2 separate regions of the Homo sapiens genome follow, and region 1 is linked to region 2. The links are contacts of gene promoters, found by promoter capture Hi-C in human tissues and cell types (Jung and others, 2019). All regions are on one chromosome and are shown on one strand. Each heading gives the region's core, a stretch centred on a gene start or on the middle of the fragment in contact. The rest is flanking DNA. Distances are from core to core; before and after follow the strand shown. Region 1 has its middle 59 kb from the start of EYA4. Region 2 holds the start of EYA4 (EYA transcriptional coactivator and phosphatase 4).

Evidence for each region. Contacts are between HindIII fragments. The study calls those that stand out against the background at their distance.
Region 1: a contact is called between a fragment that was not itself captured here and the fragment with the promoter of EYA4 in region 2, in 1 of the 25 tissues and cell types used here (IMR-90 fibroblasts).

The regions. Positions count from the first base shown.
Region 1 is chr6:133,180,136-133,184,634 of GRCh38, reverse strand. No RefSeq gene overlaps it. Among named protein-coding and RNA genes, the nearest start is that of EYA4, 59 kb to the left of the region's middle. The HindIII fragment of the contact is 5,248 bases long and covers 1-3,889 here.
Region 2 is chr6:133,238,483-133,242,685 of GRCh38, reverse strand. It overlaps EYA4 (EYA transcriptional coactivator and phosphatase 4), which reads right to left and starts at 1,329. Exons shown (of 20, transcript NM_004100.5): 1 at 937-1,329. LOC124901231 (serine/arginine repetitive matrix protein 1-like) reads left to right here. Exons shown (of 3, transcript XM_047419612.1): 2 at 275-467; 3 at 1,030-2,366. The coding sequence ends at 1,900. RefSeq lists enhancers at 1-91, 92-986. The HindIII fragment of the contact is 6,618 bases long and covers 1-4,203 here.

The DNA.
Region 1 (4,499 bases), core at 16-2,515, 58 kb after region 2:
TCCAGTTATATGTTATCTTTCTATTATTTCTGCTCTGGCAGTGTGTTTTGTTTTGAGCCCGACATTTTTATGTTCTTTTTGTAATTTAAGAACATGTTGTTCAAAAATATAAGAATTTGAAGTTCTGGAAAACAAGAGGACATTCGTGGTCAGTAAATTAACTATTCTTCGCCTTCTGATGACACATATTTTTTGTAAACTAACTAGCAAATGCATATTGATAGGGTCTTTATATTTTCATACATGCCCTCAGCTATTAAAATATTTATATGATATGTGTAATTGCTGAAAATGGTAACCTGCTCCTATTATGAAATCACAAAAAACATGAAATATATTTCTCTGATGTGCTTTCTGGTGAAAATATTTATTGGTCACTAATTTGTTAGTATTTATTGGTAATTAATTGGTCAGCATTTATATTAACACTACCATTCCTGTAATTAACCATGAGATGTTATTGATTATATTTATGACATGAACAGGGTTTTTCTCCCTATACTTGAAGGTATGTGAAGATATGTGTGAAGGTATGTGAAGTATGTATGAGTTCAATTAGTATGTTAACTCCTAGAGGGCAAGGGTTATTTTGTGCATCTATTTTTACGCATCTTTTTTTTCAAAGAACACAGATGCAATGAACACAGGGCTTTGAATGCAAGTTTTTGATTTGTCACTGCTTGTTATGCAGCTTCTATTGAAGTCTGCTCACAGGTGCCACTACTGATAGTCCTATTTCCGTTGGAGTGCTTTCCAGAATCCCACAACCCTAATGCCATACTCTACACATGACATTCTTTCAAAATGCTGAGGTCATGTACATATATCAAATTACCTTCCTTCATCCTATATGCTTAGCCTCTATTGTAGTTGATTGTAGAAATGTATGTGCAGAGAAATCAAATGAAACCATATTTACTGAAGAAAATCTTGTGCTTGGTGGTGAGAAGGGTAAGATCTCTGTTTTCAAATAATTTAGGACTAGAAAAGAATAATCCTGTTTCCTTAAAAAGTTGACCATCATCTATGTATTCTTCATACTTCTATCATTAAAAACATAAAAGTAACAGAAATGAGGGTTTTTTTTCATCAAAATGAAGTGTATACATGGCTTTTCTTTTCTCTGGTGTTGCCCCTCTGTTTTAAATTCTTCAGTTGTCTGTTACCTTTCTGTATCCTTCTTCATCCTACCCCCAAAACCCATAAGAAAGAAGCAGTCTTCTTAGAAGCTCAATGCAGGCAAATACAACGTATACAATATAGTTAAGTTTGAGAAACAGATTATTGCACTGCAAGATGCTACCCTCAAAGTGGAAATCACATAATTATGTATCAGCTCCCAAATTTGATTTTGCCTTTCAAAGAAGATTAATTTATAATGGTTAAAAGGCATTTTATTTATTTCTCCCATAGACACACAAACATTTCCTTAAGAAGTGTATAGAAGTGTATAGAATTGATGTAAGAAGTGTATAGAATTCATCATACTTGATGAATATATAATGGAGCTAATAAAACATACCACTGCCTTCTAGACATCTAATACCCTTACGGTAAGTTTGACCCTTGGTTAAGCACATCTTGTCTTTTAGTCACTTAAAAAAACTTTTTCAGAATTAATAATTTCATGGACATTGGGTAAATTAGTTGCTAGCTTCAGTTTCTGGTTTTCCAGAACTCTTCCTGGAATTTAGAATTAGAAGATAAAAATAAGTCATATTAAGGTAACTTTGATAGTAGAACTTTCAGATTTGGAAAAATAAGAACTAATGGGTGTTAGTAGGTCCTACAATATAATACGAATGAGCAATCTCATATATGATCAGGGGATGCTGAGTCTGGCCAGGGTTAGAGATGAAGCCAAAAGAAGGAAAAGAAGGCAGGTGACGCCAGAAGGATGCTATCTAGCCTCCATAGGATGTTAAATCACCCAAATTATTATAGCATCGGAAAATCAATTGGCTTCCTTTGTATTTTTTCCCTTTAGCCCTATAGCTGTATACATTCTTGTGTGAGGGTAGGGTTGGGGATAGGGGTGGTGGATTGTAGGGTGGAGGGCACTGGTGAAAGGCACTCAGCACAGTCAGGTGACATAAAGTTTAGCCATTGGCAAGTAAGAACAGTAAAGCTCGTAGCCACATTACTTGCTGAAGACATCTTTAAAATAAATATTAATCTCCACTGACCTGATCCCAGGCTCAGCTGTCAGTGTCATGGGATAAACCCAGATTTTAGCAGCAGACATTTTTGGTAACCAGCCATTAGACAACAGGCAAGCGCTTTACTTTCATTGAACCTCATTTCCTGTGCACAAAATGTTAAGATAGTTGCACGAAGATAGTGGTATTTAACTTTCATGGTGGTTGTGAGAATTAAATGAGATAAGGCATGTAAAATACCAAGTAGGCAGTAAATTATAAGTATGAATATCAGATAAAACTTGATCTAAGAATGAGGACAAGAGACATTATAGAAGAAAGGGCTAACTACAGTTCTGGAAGAGTTTTACTTCAGAAATCCAGTGATGATATAAATTCAGGTATCTGTCCCCCACCCGCTTTTTTATTTTTATTTTTTGAGACAGGGTTGCACTTTGTCACTCTTGCTGAAGTGCAGTGGCGAAATCATGGATCACTGCAACCTCCACCCCCTGGGCTCAAGTGATCCTCTCACCTCAGCCTCCAGAGTGACTGAGGCTACAGGAACGTGCCACCAGGCCCGGCTAATTTTTGTGTTTTTGTAGAGATGGGGGTCTCATCATGTTGTCCAGGCTGATCTCAGATTCCTGAGCTCAAGCCATGTGCCTGCCTCCAGACCTCCCAAAGGGCTGGGATTACAGGCGTGAGCCACCACACCTGGCCTAGATATCCATTTCTGAAATACTCGGAGTAGTAAGTCAAAAGGTAAAAACCACATGATTATTTTGATAAATTCTGAAAAATCATTTGATAATATTTTACATTCATTTTTGACTAAAAGTAAACTTTAATAAATTAGAATTTAAAAGATACTTTTAATGCAGTTAAAATGTATATACTTGTTGGTAAAACAAAATGCAATTAAACCAAGGATAAAGCAAGAAGGATGGCCATCCCCATATTGTTTAATATTGGTCTTGTAGAATTATCATTCCAGTGGATGAAATATTAAGAACTGGATAAAAAGATGCAATAATGTATAGAGGATATGGTTTAAATCTGGAAAATCCAAGATAATTATCCTAAAGAAGAAAAAAATCTTATTTGTAAAATACTTTCTTAATCCAAGTATTATATTAGAAATTGGATATACAGGCTATGAAATAAAAAGTTTGCTTTTAGCTACTAGGAAAGAAAGTTCTTTAGTGGGAAAAATGAAGCCCCACAAAGGACACAAATTAACAACAAATGTGGACACATCCATAATAGTTATTTTTAAAATAATCAAATCATAAAACAAACATCACAATACATTTAATTCCATTTTCGGAAGGTTGAAATATATTTATAATTAGGATTGTAATAGCTTTTTGATGCAATAACAAGATTAGTAAAAACTCTAAGTTAGTAGGTAAAAGTAACCGCAAAGGTTACTTAATTGCATCAGGTCAGTTCAACTGGCAGAACAGTTTTCTTACTATAAATCAGTGAAACAAAGCTCAGATGGAAAAGGGTATTTTTCTCGTACCCTGTCCTTTCAACTATTGCCCTATTCTTCATCCTAAACTTTGAGAAACACTTAATTTTCATTTTAATCTTTACTTTCAGTTACAGATCATTTTTTTCTTTCTTAAATTACACAGTAAATTCTGATTCACTGTGTAAAGTTGGGGCATGCGATTATAATACATGTGTAGTTTGAGATTAGAAATACATCTTGAAAGAATTATCAGGTAAAGTTAATAGAATTATAATTTATATTGGCCAAGTGCAGTGGCTTACGCCTGTAATCCCAGCACTTTGGAAGGCTGAGGTGGGTGAATCACTTGAGGTCAGGAGTTCAAAACCAGCCTGGCCAACGTGGTGAAACCCCATTTCTACTGAAAATACCAAAAAAAAAAAAAAAAAAAGCCGGACTTGGTGTTGGGTGCCTGTAATCTTAGCTACTTGGGAGGCTGAGGCAGGAGAACTGCTTGAACCCAAGAGGCAGAGGTTGCAGTGAGCTGAGATCGTACCACTGCTCTCCAGCCTGGGCGACAGAGCAAGACTCTGTCTCAGAAAAAAAAAAAAACCGATTATAATTTATACCAAAAAATGTGGATGTTTTATTCCTACTCAAAAGTTCAGGAGTATGGTCCTAAGAGTGATTTGGGAGTCCTAACCAAATGGGTGCTGATTATTAACTGCTACAGTCACCAGTATAACCATCCTTCTACCAAACTGTCTACTACCCACACACAAAAGTTTAGACTGAAAGATGAAAATCCTCAAGAGTAGATAGAAAAACGAGTTGGTTTTCATGATAAGAGAATATGTTCTTATTACGTAGTTAAATTATGTGAGAATCAGAACACACAATAG
Region 2 (4,203 bases), core at 80-2,579:
AACAAAGGGAGAAAACTCTTTCAAGTGCTACCAAACGAAAGTTCGGGTTGCTGTGCGGCGCAGAATAAAACAAGCACACACACGTCTACTTCCAAACCTCGCTTCACCACGCTAAAAATCCGAGCCATTTCAAGTTCCACTGCCTCCCCAGACCCAGCAGGCTTGGAAGGAGAGAAAAACCTGCTCTACCCAGCCAGGTCCCTTCCTTTGGAGAAGTTATAAGCCTTCCATGGCACCCGCTACTCGAGCCAATGAACGCGACTGCTCTGACAAGGCGCCTCTAATTTCACCGACCCTGGCAAACTGCAGGAGACATTCAGTCCACGCCACATAAAAACTATTAAAGTGGGATCGCCGCAGTTGAAAAGCCCGATCAGTGCCTGGAGATTAGAACGCGAGCCTTTAAAGTACACACGCACCCGGCACCGGGAAAGCCCAGGCGCCTGTGACCCTCCGAAGGACTCTGGGTCAGCATCCTCGCGCCTGGACCATCTAGGGGGTCATCAGAAAGTAATACACGTCATAAGAAAGATGTGGGGGAGACCCCGATGCTCGCGCCTCTGCCAGGTGGAGGCGGGGTGCAGGTAGAAGCCGCGCGCTGGACTGCTGGATGAACTCCGTTACGCGCAGGCTCCGCGCCGACCCCGGAAGGGACAGGCAGGCTCGGAAGGGACCCTTGGGGCTTGGGGACGTCTTCTAGGGCAGAGAGCACCGCTGCGGTCCGAGCGGCCCGGGCCCTCAGGCGTGGGGCACCCGGCCTCCAAGCGCCCCCCGGGGACGCAGGCGCCCACGCACCGTCCAGCTGCGCGTCCTCAGTACCCAGCGCTCGGCGTCCCCGGCGGAGCCTCGCGCACTTTCCCGGAAAGTTTGGGGGTTCTCTCAACTCAGGCTCCCCCGGGAGCCCTGGGGCGGGGGTTGGAAGAAGGGGTCACTCACCTCGTCGCCCGGTCCGCCTCGGGTTCCCGAAGTGTCTGTCCCAGCCGCGGTTCAGTGCGTCCGTAATTAAGTATTTATTCTCGTTCCTTCCAGTGTCGAAGTTTCCCCTTCGCGCTGTGCCTCTGGTGAAAACAGGACATCCCCTTCGGCCACCCCACAACAAATAGCGTACACAAGCGGGGGAGAAGCGGGGCGGAGGGAGAAGCCGGCTCCGAGGGGGAGGAGGAAAGGAGAGGAGCCAAAACTCCGGACTGCGACAGGGGGGAAAGGAGAAGAAAAGAAAATGAGAGAGCGCGCCCAGCCGCCGCAGTCGTCACTCCCCGGCTTTTCCCGCAGCTCTTTCCCCCTCTCTAAGGCAGCGACAACTTCACGTGGACAGGATGGAAGTTTTGCGCGGAAGCCGGGAACGGCCGGAGCGTGCGCCGCGCTGCCGGCAGCCTCGCACTTGCGCAGGGAGGTGGGGCGGGGGCGACGTCGCCACCGGCTACTGCGGGCTCGTGAGGCCGCCGGGGGCCTCGGGGGAGGCCGCCAGGGACGCGGGGGGCGGCGGCGCGCGGGGGACCCACTCCGTTTTTATTTGACCTCGGGTGACTGCCTATTGTCATGGTTTGCGATCTCGCGTGGGGACCGCCCAGGGCCTCGGGGCCCTGGATGTCCCGGGTGGCGCCGCCGTAATCTCCGTGCCCTCCGCGCCGCCCCCACCCCGCCCCCACCCGGGCCGACTCGAGCGGCTGCAGCCTCCAGGCTGAGGGGAGGGACCCGCGACCGCGCTCTCCTCCCTGGGCCGGAGAGCCACTGTCGATCCCCACCTGCTTCTGTGGGGCAGCCCCCGGAATTGCCTGGAACTCTCTCGCTACCCAGTTCCCCTGTGCAGGCCACTGCGGGCCCCCTGCCGGACTCCTTTCCACTTACCCCAAGGGAGGAGACAGAAGGGACTTCGCCTACTTGCAACAACGTGAAATAAAAACCAACCCAGACCAGACTGGGGCGCTTTTTCTGACGGGAGGAAATACCCTTTTCCGTGGAGATATATGTTATGAAGGACTAAGCGGTCTGGGGATAGGCTGTGCTGCGAAGGGCCTGGGCCCCTTCCAGTGCTGCTGGGTGCAGGTATAGGCATCCGTCCCAGACGCCCAAAGGTCAGGCAGCAACGACTTACTTCCAAGGCGGCGTCAGAGCTTCTCTAGGCACATTGCTGAAATGACATTTCGTGTCTAAGCCTTCTGCGCATGCACTACGCGACTACATAGGATTTACGATTTTATACCCACACGTGTGTATGCCACAACCAGGGGACACAGCAAAGGTAGACGGAATAAACAATCCATAAATTTTGCATCCATTTAATCACCTCTTCCAAAAACCTATTGTCTATTTTAGCGGCACCTTCTCTGTCATATTGATAATAAATGTTTTAATTTATTGATAAATCACTGAGTGTCAATCATTGTATTGGTCACTTATGGTACATGAGTTCATTTAACTTCCATGACAACTCTACGGTGGTCATTATTAAGCCGGTATAAAAGATGAGGAAACCAAAGCCCAAAGAATCATGAGTGACTTTTCCAAAGACAAATCCAGTGGTCTCTAATCACAAAGCCTATGATACAACAACCTCTACATTACCTTAGGTGTGGTCTAAGAGATTACAGATTAATCCGTAGAAATTACTCCCATTCAAAGAAAGTTTAGTTTTAATATATTCACTAAGTTACGTTCTGAAAAAGGTTCAGAAAAAAGATTTCATCCTCTACTTTAGGTTGGTCTTATGCAACTGATATGAGCACTGTCTAATTCAAAAGCAGTATCAACCCTGAATACTTATGGTTACAATTTATTTTTTAATGAGTGGGGAATTATCTACAATGCTTAAGAGGCTCTAGAAAAGGTGGTGTTGTAAATTTAAAATGATAAAGGCAGTCGTTGCTGCTCTCATCACTTACTGGGTGTTCTTTCCTGCAGATTTATTTTGGAGGGTGTAGGCATTGCCAGGCATAATGTTTCCTTTTCTGGTTCTCAAGGTAGAAAGGGTTCTGGCAGTGGGGTTGGCACAAAGCGGATTTGGAGCATGGTTGAGAGCACATTCTGGCCTAACGAGGAATGCCAGTTAATATACACTGGAGAGAAAAATATGAATGGACAGATTTAATTAATTTTGCAGATTTATTTTCTCCATTTCACATGTGAGAAAACTAAGGGCTCAGAATTTTTAGAAGCTTGCTAATAAATGGCAGACCTGAGTTTCAAGCCAGCCTTTATTTAAGTCCACTCTTAGTCACTGTGATGCTATTATTAGTATTAATGGTATTCAGAAAAATAGTAATTCTTTTAAATATGTAATATATTACAAGCCAAATATGCAATTTAAATGTTTTGTGAATCATAGTGTCTAAGAATGTTCTGTGGCTATAGCAAATATCATGTAAGGATTAAGTACAATGATGAATTTAATACTGTCCTCAAAAGGCAACAACATTTTGAATTTCATTTTGGCATAAAACATTATGTGCTAGTTTCACCTACAAATAAAGGTGGGAGATGTATGATTTGAATAAAATAAAAATTCATACTTTAGCATATTGTTAACATAAATATAGGGTGGGTTTTCTTAGCATGTTTCTTTGTACCCTTCTAAAGTCAGATTTTTCAGTTACACTGACCTTGCTTTCAAGGTCACTTTGCTCCTGCATAGTTTTTTGTACATCTAGATAAGAATACATGTACAGAAATTATTTTTAAAATCCAGGATAATATATTAGTTATTTGACTTCATATTACTACCTTCTAATAGTTGTCTTAAATATACATATATTAACATGGACACCACTAGGTGTCAGATAAAACGTCAATTTTCAGTACACATTTGAAATAAGTTTAACATAGGAAACAGAATTTTAGGGTTATAAAGGCAAAAATGTATTGTTTGCTTAAATGAGGCCTTATTTCCAGCATTTACATTGAATATCACTTTTATAATTATAGCCATATCGCCTATATTATTGACTTAATATGTATCTTTAAATAATCTATTTTTATTAAATAAGTTTATCTGATAAAGGACATTTTTTATAGTCACCATAAATGGAAAACTAATAAAACCCGCCATGAATAGAAGATGATCTTGCAAAGGAACCTATATTGTAGAAATAAAAGTTATTTCTCATGTACCACCTAAAATTATCTCACATACAGTTTGAGAAACATTGGTTTAAAGAATTACATTCCATATGTCCCTCAGGCTCACCAAGAGATATTTTCAAGCCT